Regions from separate parts of the Homo sapiens genome. Here region 2 is linked to region 1. Evidence: promoter capture Hi-C in 16 types of primary human blood cells and fetal thymus (Javierre and others, 2016). All regions are on one chromosome and are shown on one strand. The core of a region is centred on a gene start or on the middle of the fragment in contact, and the rest is flanking DNA. Distances in the headings are between cores, read along the strand shown.

Region 1 (3,757 bases), core at 144-2,643:
CAACCGCAACTCTCTATTCTACTTTAGGGAATACTATGTTGGCCATACCACATGCTCCCCTAATCTCAAAACGCCAGCCAAAACTCATAGCAAAAATATTGTGCTACACTTTCAGGATTTAAGAAAAGGTTTCTTAGTAAATGCTACTAATTGAATCCTGAGTAGGTAAGAATTATTCCCATTTTCAAGTGAGGCTCAGGTGTCGGGTAAATTCCTTGTAAATCAGAGCTAATCTGGAAAAAACCTGGATTAAGACTCAGGAATCTTTCCATTAAATTAGCCATCACTATCAATTTCCTTTTAAAACATGTTGCTTTTCTTTAAAACATGTTGCACAGGTAATCATTATCCCTTTTGACGTTTCCAACAATTTAAGGCAGGAGTTATCTCCATTTGATGCATCTGAAGGTGTCCCTGTGAGAAGGAAAGTGAGCTGCCAGAAGTTGGAATCAGCACTATAGAGTTCAAAGGTGAGACAGACCTGTCTGACCCCAAATCTCGTGATCTCCCATCACATACTTCAGCTTCCTAAACTAGTAATTAAGAAGCTAACTGACCTGTTTAAAAAAAAAAAAAAGAAAGAAAGAAAAAACCTCAGCAAAGTGAGGAAAGAACATAAACTGTTAAGAAGCACACAAAACCTGACAAAAGCAGTCGCTCCTGAAAGACGGTCTCCTGATGTATTCTATAGCATTTGCCTTTCCAGACCGAGCCGGGAGAGACACCGGAAGCCAAGTGTTCTGATTCCTGTTGCCGGTTCAGTCACTGCTGCTCTTAGCCTAACCCGGCTTACCTTATAGACCACCCCAGCGATGGTCGTGCCAGTTTTCCGGACCTTTGGAAGCTTGTATCCCCTCTTTGCAAAATCGGCTTCCAAGACGGCATTCCTAAGAGCAAATGAGAGAATCAAGTGTTGAAGGGCAGGACCACATCGCACAGCACTGGCATGAAAAGTGCCTAACAGAGAACTCAGGAAAGCTGCTACTTGTTTTCACGCCCATCTGTTTAATGAATCCTCCCACCATCAGCACTGTTCTCCCGTTTTCCAACGAAGACAGTCTTACAAAGGGGCCGTGACGTGCCTTAGGAGACGGAGATAAACGGTGGCCGAGTGCGCTGGGAAGGTGGGAGAGCAGACCCGGCTTCAGGAGAAACCCACGCCCAGGCCCTGATTCCCCTGAGTCACACTAGCCGCGGGCCACAGGCCCCGCCATGAATTCTTCCCTCAGAATTCTCGTATCACACCTTGGCCCAGCTCCCACCCGAGCACCGCACTCTTCTCCCTCCCTGAACCAAGCCCCAAGCAAGGCGGCACCTGCGGCAGTTATCAAAAGAGAAGCCTCCAACTGGTGGAGCATACACCGACACAGCCGCCATCTTCCCAAGAAAGCAGTTCCGGGTCGGAGGCGGGTGCAAACAAAAAGAGCCGAGCACTTCCGGCGTCGCTGGCAACGGGGGCTGAAGGGGCGGGGCAAACGCCGCACTAGAACGATTGATCTTAGAGATTCTGGTTCCTAGAGAGGCCAGAGATGTTTGAAGTATATCGCCCCAAGTGGCACGGAGGAGAAAGTGACACCCGGAACCGGGAAAGGACTTGTCCAAGGTGAACGCACCAGCGACCAGGTCTCCTGCCGCTCAGACTGGACTTGTTTCTACCGTTAATTTGGTTCTGCGGTGCTTCAGAGACAGACAGACCCAAGTCCCAGGCACAGCCCCACCACCCCCTTGCGTTAAGCAAGTCTCTTCAACTCTCTGAATCTGTTTCCTCCGCTATCAGATGGAGATTACAACCTAGCTCAAAAGGCTGCTGTAGAATGGCCATTAAGTCTGTGAAAAGAGGCTCAACATGATTAGTCATAGGGTGAATGCAAAGCACGACCACAGTGAGATCCCACTTCGCACCCGCTAGGATGGCCATAAACAAAAAGACAGAAAAGCGCAAGGGTTGCGAGAGTGTGGAGAAATTGGAACCCGAATACACGGCTGGTGAGAATGCAAAACGGTGCGGCTGCTCCGGAAAACAATTTGGCAGTTCCCCAAAAAGTATTATCCTCTTAGATACGCACCCGAGAGGGTTGAAGACATGTATTCACAAAAACTTCTACAAAGGTGAGGTAGAAGGCAGGCCTCCATTCAGAGATGGGGCTGAGATACCTGACCAAATTGAGGACTAGCTAAAACAGGGCCTGGACGGAAGCTGTCTTCCCTAAGACTCGCTCACCAGCCAGCCAAGTCAGTTTACCGTTGCCATGGCAACACTCGTGAGTTACCGCCCCTTTCCATGGCAGTGGCACCATAAACCAAAAGTTACTACCCCTTCCCTAGAAATGCCTGCATAAACCACCCCTTAATCTGCATGTAATTAAAAGTGTGTATAAATATGACAGCAAAACTGCCCTGACACTCTGCCTAAGAGGGTAACCCTGCTCTGCAGGAGCAGTCATGGAGCTGTAACGCCGCCACTTCAATAAAGCCGTTTTCTTCTGCCTCTAACTTGCCCTTGAATTCTTTCTTGGGCAAAGCCAAGAACCCTTGTGGGCTCAGCCGCACTTTGGGGCTTACCTGCCCTGCGTCAAAAGGGGTCTCATTGGCTGGGCGCGGTGTCTCACGCCTGTAATCCCAGCACTTTGGGAGGCCGAGGTGGGCGGATCATGAGGTCAGGAGATTGAGACCATCCTGGCTAACACGGTGAAACTCCGTCTTTACTAAAAATACAAAAACTTAGCCAGACGTGGTGGTGGGCACCTGTAGTCCCAGCTAGTCAGGAGGCCGAGGCAGGAGAATAGCTCGAACCAGGGAGGCAGAAGTTGCAGTGAGCTGAGATCACGCCACTGCACTCCAGCCTGGGCAACAGAGCAGAGACTCCGTCTCAAAAAAAAAAGCGAGGGGGGGGTCTCATTATTCACAATAGCCAAATAATGGAAACAAATGTCCATCCACTGATGAATGGATAAACAAAATATGGTAAATTCATTTAATGGAATATTATTAGACCATAAAGAAGTCTGAAGCACAGATACATGTTACAACAGGGATGGACCTTAAAAATATACTGAGGGAAAGAAGCCAGGCACAAAAGGCCACATAGTGTATCATTCCATGTATGTGAAGTGTTCTTAATAGGCAAATCCACAGACAGAAAGTAGATGTTTGGTTGCTAAGGGTTAGGGGAGGAGGAGAGAATGGATAGGACTGTTTAGTGGGCGCAGAGTTTTTGGAAAATGATGAAAATATTCTGGAATTACATAGTGGTATTGGTTGCACGATATTATGAATACACTAAAAACCACTGAGTTGCACACTTTAAAATGGTTAAAATGGTGACTTCTACGTTAGGTGAATTTTATTTTATTTTATTTTATTTTATTTATTTATTTATTTTTTTGAGACTCGGTCTCCCTCTATCACCCAGGCTGGAGTGCAGTGGCATGATCTCAGCTCACTGCAACCTCCACCTCCTGGGTTCAAGTGATTCTCATGCCTCAGCCTCCCAAGTAGCTGGGATTACAGGCATATGCCACCACGCCTGACTAATTTTTGTATTTTTAGTAGAGACAGGGTTTCACCATGTTGGCCAGGCTGGTCTCGAACTCCAGACCTCAAGTGATCTGCCCACCTCAGCCTCCCAAAGTGCTGGGATTACAGGCATGAGCCACAATGCCTTGCCAGTGAATTTCATTTTAATAAGGCTATTGTGAGTATTAAACATTGTACATGAAGACCATCTATCTTAGCATGTAGAAGCTTCTTATAAATA
Region 2 (3,914 bases), core at 637-3,136, 120 kb after region 1:
TTCAGGCAGGCAGGCATATGCTCAAATCTAAGGCTCTGGATTCAAATCCCAAACCCTTATGGGAAAGTCTCTCTGAATTTCAGTTTTCTCATCTATAAAATAGGCACAACACCACCTATAAGGCTGGAGGCTGCGAGAAAGAAAGAAGACAATTAAAAATATCTAGTCTAGACCGGGCGCAGTGGCTCACGCCTGTAATCCCAGCACTTTGGAAGGCAGGCGGATCATGAGGTCGGGAGGCCGAGACTATCCTGGCTAACACGGTGAAACCCCATCTCTACTAAATATACAAAAAATTAGCCGGGCGTGGTGGCGGGCCCCTATAGTCCCAGCTACTTGGGTGGCTGAGGCAGGGGAATGGCATGAAACCGGGAGGCGGAGCTTGCAGTGAGCCAAGATTGCACCACTGCACTCCAGCCTGGGTGACAGAGCCAGACACCGTCTCAAAAAAAAAAATCTAGCCTAATGCCTGGCACACTATAGGCACCAAAATGACCCCTAGGTCTCTTTCTTGGATTGTAAACTCCAGTTCAGAGCCTCTCTTGCCTTGTAGGCAGAATTTATATTTTTATTTTTCCTGGATGCGTTATCTCAGTAATCCAAGTATAATAAAGATCAGCTGGGTGCAGTGGCTCACACCTGTAATCCCAGCACTTTGAGAGGCTGAGACGGGTAGATCACTTGAGGTCAACAGTTTGAGACCAGTCTCGCCAACATGGTGAAACCTCGTCTCTACTAAAAATACAAAAATTAGCCAGGTGTGGTGGCAGGCACCTGTAATCCCAACTACTTGGGAGGCTGAGGCAGGAGAATCACTTGAACCCGGGAGGCAAGAGTTGCAGTGAGCCAAGACTGCGCCACTACATTCCAGCCTGGGCGACAGAATGAGACTCTGTCTCAAAAAATAAATTAATTTAAAAAAAATTACAGCTTAGCATTCTGCTAAGCTTGAATGCATAAAATGTATTCCTAACAACCATCTTACTGGGGAAATTGTGTTATCACCCCATTTTACCAGTTCAGAACCTGAGGATCAGAGACTTGGCCAAGGTCACAAATCTAGTCAGTGGCAGAGTGAGGATTCAAATCCAGGCCTATGAGGTGTAGTGCCTATCCTCTGAAGGGCCAGGCAACTCTGCCTTACAGGGATGACAATTGTTTGGTTGTTTGGTATTTCCTCCCCAGCCAGGAGGCCTCACCTGTGTAGTTCTTCATCGGAGGGCGAGTACTTGGCAGTGACATCAGCCAGTTCCCCAAAGATCTGCTTGCTGTAAACGGTGAGGGAAGACAGCAGGATTAGCTCCTGCCACGTAGAGCTCAAGAGGCACGTGTAATCCTTGATTGAGAGCTCGCAGAAGAAAGGCAGTTTCTTGATCCAGGCAATCTGCCTAAAGAGCAGCTCGTCGGCCAGGCGGCAAAGCAGGGCAAATAGTTCTGCCTGTGTCACAGCGTATCTGAGGGGCAGGGACAGGGGAAAGTCACTTCCATTGGTCAGAGGGTGAGGATAAGGGTACAGAGAGAAGGTAGTCCCAAGGGCACAAAGGGACCCTGGCAATGGGCTCCTTGCTCCATGCCCACGGGTCTCCAGTTCCATTCAGTGTGATTTTCTGATAAAGGGGGAAGGCTGAGGCCAGCAGCAAGTTCAGGGCTGGAGAGGCGGGTCTGGTGAGGAAAGGCTGCTAAGGGGAAAGGAGACTTAGAAATGTGTGCAATTGGCTGGGTGCAATGGCTCATGACTGTAATCCCAGCACTTGGAGGCCACTTGAGTTCAGGAGTTCGAGACCAGCCTGGCCAACATGGTGAAACCCCATCTCTACTAAAAATACAAAAATTAGCCGGGCGTGGTAGCACATGCCTGTAATCCCAGCTACTCGGGAGGCTGAGGCAGAGGCAGAAGAATCACTTGAACCTGAGAGGCGGAGATTGCAGTGAGCTGAGATTGCGCTAATGCACTTCAGCCTGGGTGACAGAGCAAGACTCTGTCTAAAAAAAAAAAAAAAAGAAATGTGTCCAATTGTCAGGGAATATGACTTTTATTGTTGGTGTTCTCTAATGTTCCATGTCTTAGAGAAAATCCAAGTCACTCCTGTTCAAGTTCTGGCAATGGAACTCTAATGGGGTGGATCTGATGCCCACCTAACAAAGGAACTGGCACAAAAATAAGCCTCGCGTCCAGACCACTGAAGGAAAGAGAACAAGTTCAGAAGATTTTTCTGCTCTCACTCCACCCCCTGGTGGTGAGTTCAGGAACCAGCATTGCTCAGCCTTTCCTTTAAGCTAAAACTGGAATAAAAGCCGGCTTTGAGACCACAGACTCACAGACCCAAGAGTTTCAGCTTTCTTCCTCTCAAGGCCCCTTGCCAAGACTTTTCCTCACACTCCCACATCTAAATTTTTTTTTTTTTTTTTTTTGAGACGGAGTCTCACTCTGTCACCCAGAGCTGGAGTGCAGTGGCGCAATCTCGGCTCACCGCAACCTCAGCTCGCTGCAACCTCCACCTCCTGGGTTCAAGCAATTCTCCTGCCTCAGCTTACTGAGTAGCTGCGATTACAGGCGTGTGCCACCACACCCAGCTAATTTTTGTATTTTTAGTACACACGGGGTTTCACCATGTTGGCCAGCTCGTCTGGAACTCGTGACCTGGTGATCCGCCCACCTAGGCCTTCCAAAGTGCTGGGATTACAGGCATGAGCCACCACGCCCGGCTTCCTACATCTAGATTTACAAAGGGTTTGTGTGACCTCCTTGTGGGTAGATATTTTAATCTCCTCTTCTGAAACTGGAGACTAGCTTAAGAAATCTCAGGATACCTTCCTGGGAGGTCTAAGCTTGATAACACTCAAATCGTTTATGCTCTAGGCCAAAGGAGTAATGGATGCAGCAATGGGTAGGCCCGAAGGCTGAACTGTTATCTCCTCAGGTAGAAGTGACTAAAGACTGAAAGAATACTCCTTCTACCCACTCAAGCCTGCACTTAAAGTGGTCACATGCCACCAGGCTAGCCATGGGGATGCTGGTGAGGGGTGCAGACAGGCTACAACCAGCCAGGGCTTTGTGAAGGAGCCTATATCCGATATATAACTATTCCCAGAATTACTGCTCATCTCTAGCATGGAAGTGCTCTGACCCATCCCAGCACCTGGCTTACCTAGGCCCAAGCAGAATCAAAGGCCCTTCTATCTCAATTCCATAGGAACTGGAAAGTAACCTCAACTCTATGAGAAAGGATGCTTAAGGAAAAAATAAGGGATCACTGGTTTCAAAGATAAGCACAGATTTGTCCCCTGACACTTGAGTCATTATCCCCCCAACTCATTCTGAAGCCACGGGTATAGGAGCCAGGGACGCGAGTGGGTGTGGGGTAGGGACACTTTGAGACTGCAAGGGGCCAAGAAGGGCGGAGCTCACTCACCCATCTTCAATCAACATGGGCGTGCCCAATGGTTCCAGGTCCTCGGCTGATAACAGCTGGTGAATCAGACTGTATGACTGGGGATCCAGGCTGCGAGCTTGTTGGGGCAGAAGTGGTGAGTGGCCAGAATAGCTAAAAAGGTGCGGTATATATTGGTAATGTGGAGGCACAGACATTCCCATGTACTGTTCCCTGAAGGCCATGAATCCATTCAGTTCCACAGACCTACTGGAGAGAAAAGTCTTGCGTCAAACAGAGCCATGGCAAGTCTAGTAATTACTCAAAGGAAGTGAGCCAGAAGGTGACTTTAGGTATTCTTTGAACATGAGGTATGTGTCTTCATCAAGCCAGGGGGCATAATTAATAGTTAAATTCATGTCTCTCCTACTAGATTCCCATCTGTAAGACAAAGACTCTATGGGTATATGAATGTTGGGGTCGCCACTGGACACTCAGTGCATGGCAGAGTAGGTAATGAATAAATATTGGTTGAATGAATTC

What was found. Contacts are between HindIII fragments. The CHiCAGO score rates a contact against its expected background, and 5 or more counts as called.
Region 2: a fragment that was not itself captured here is called in contact with the fragment with the promoter of PSMB7 in region 1 in 2 of 17 cell types (megakaryocytes and endothelial precursors); the score reaches 8.2 in megakaryocytes.

The regions. Positions count from the first base shown.
Region 1 is chr9:124,414,049-124,417,805 of GRCh38, forward strand. PSMB7 (proteasome 20S subunit beta 7) reads right to left here and starts at 1,394. Exons shown (of 8, transcript NM_002799.4): 1 at 1,316-1,394; 2 at 794-887. The coding sequence starts at 1,377. RefSeq lists an enhancer at 1,301-1,350. The HindIII fragment of the contact is 2,900 bases long and covers 843-3,742 here.
Region 2 is chr9:124,534,679-124,538,592 of GRCh38, forward strand. NR6A1 (nuclear receptor subfamily 6 group A member 1) reads right to left here. Exons shown (of 10, transcript NM_033334.4): 6 at 3,414-3,641; 7 at 1,200-1,454. Among named protein-coding and RNA genes, the nearest start is that of NR5A1, 29 kb to the left of the region's middle. RefSeq lists an enhancer at 1,035-1,535. The HindIII fragment of the contact is 1,882 bases long and covers 946-2,827 here.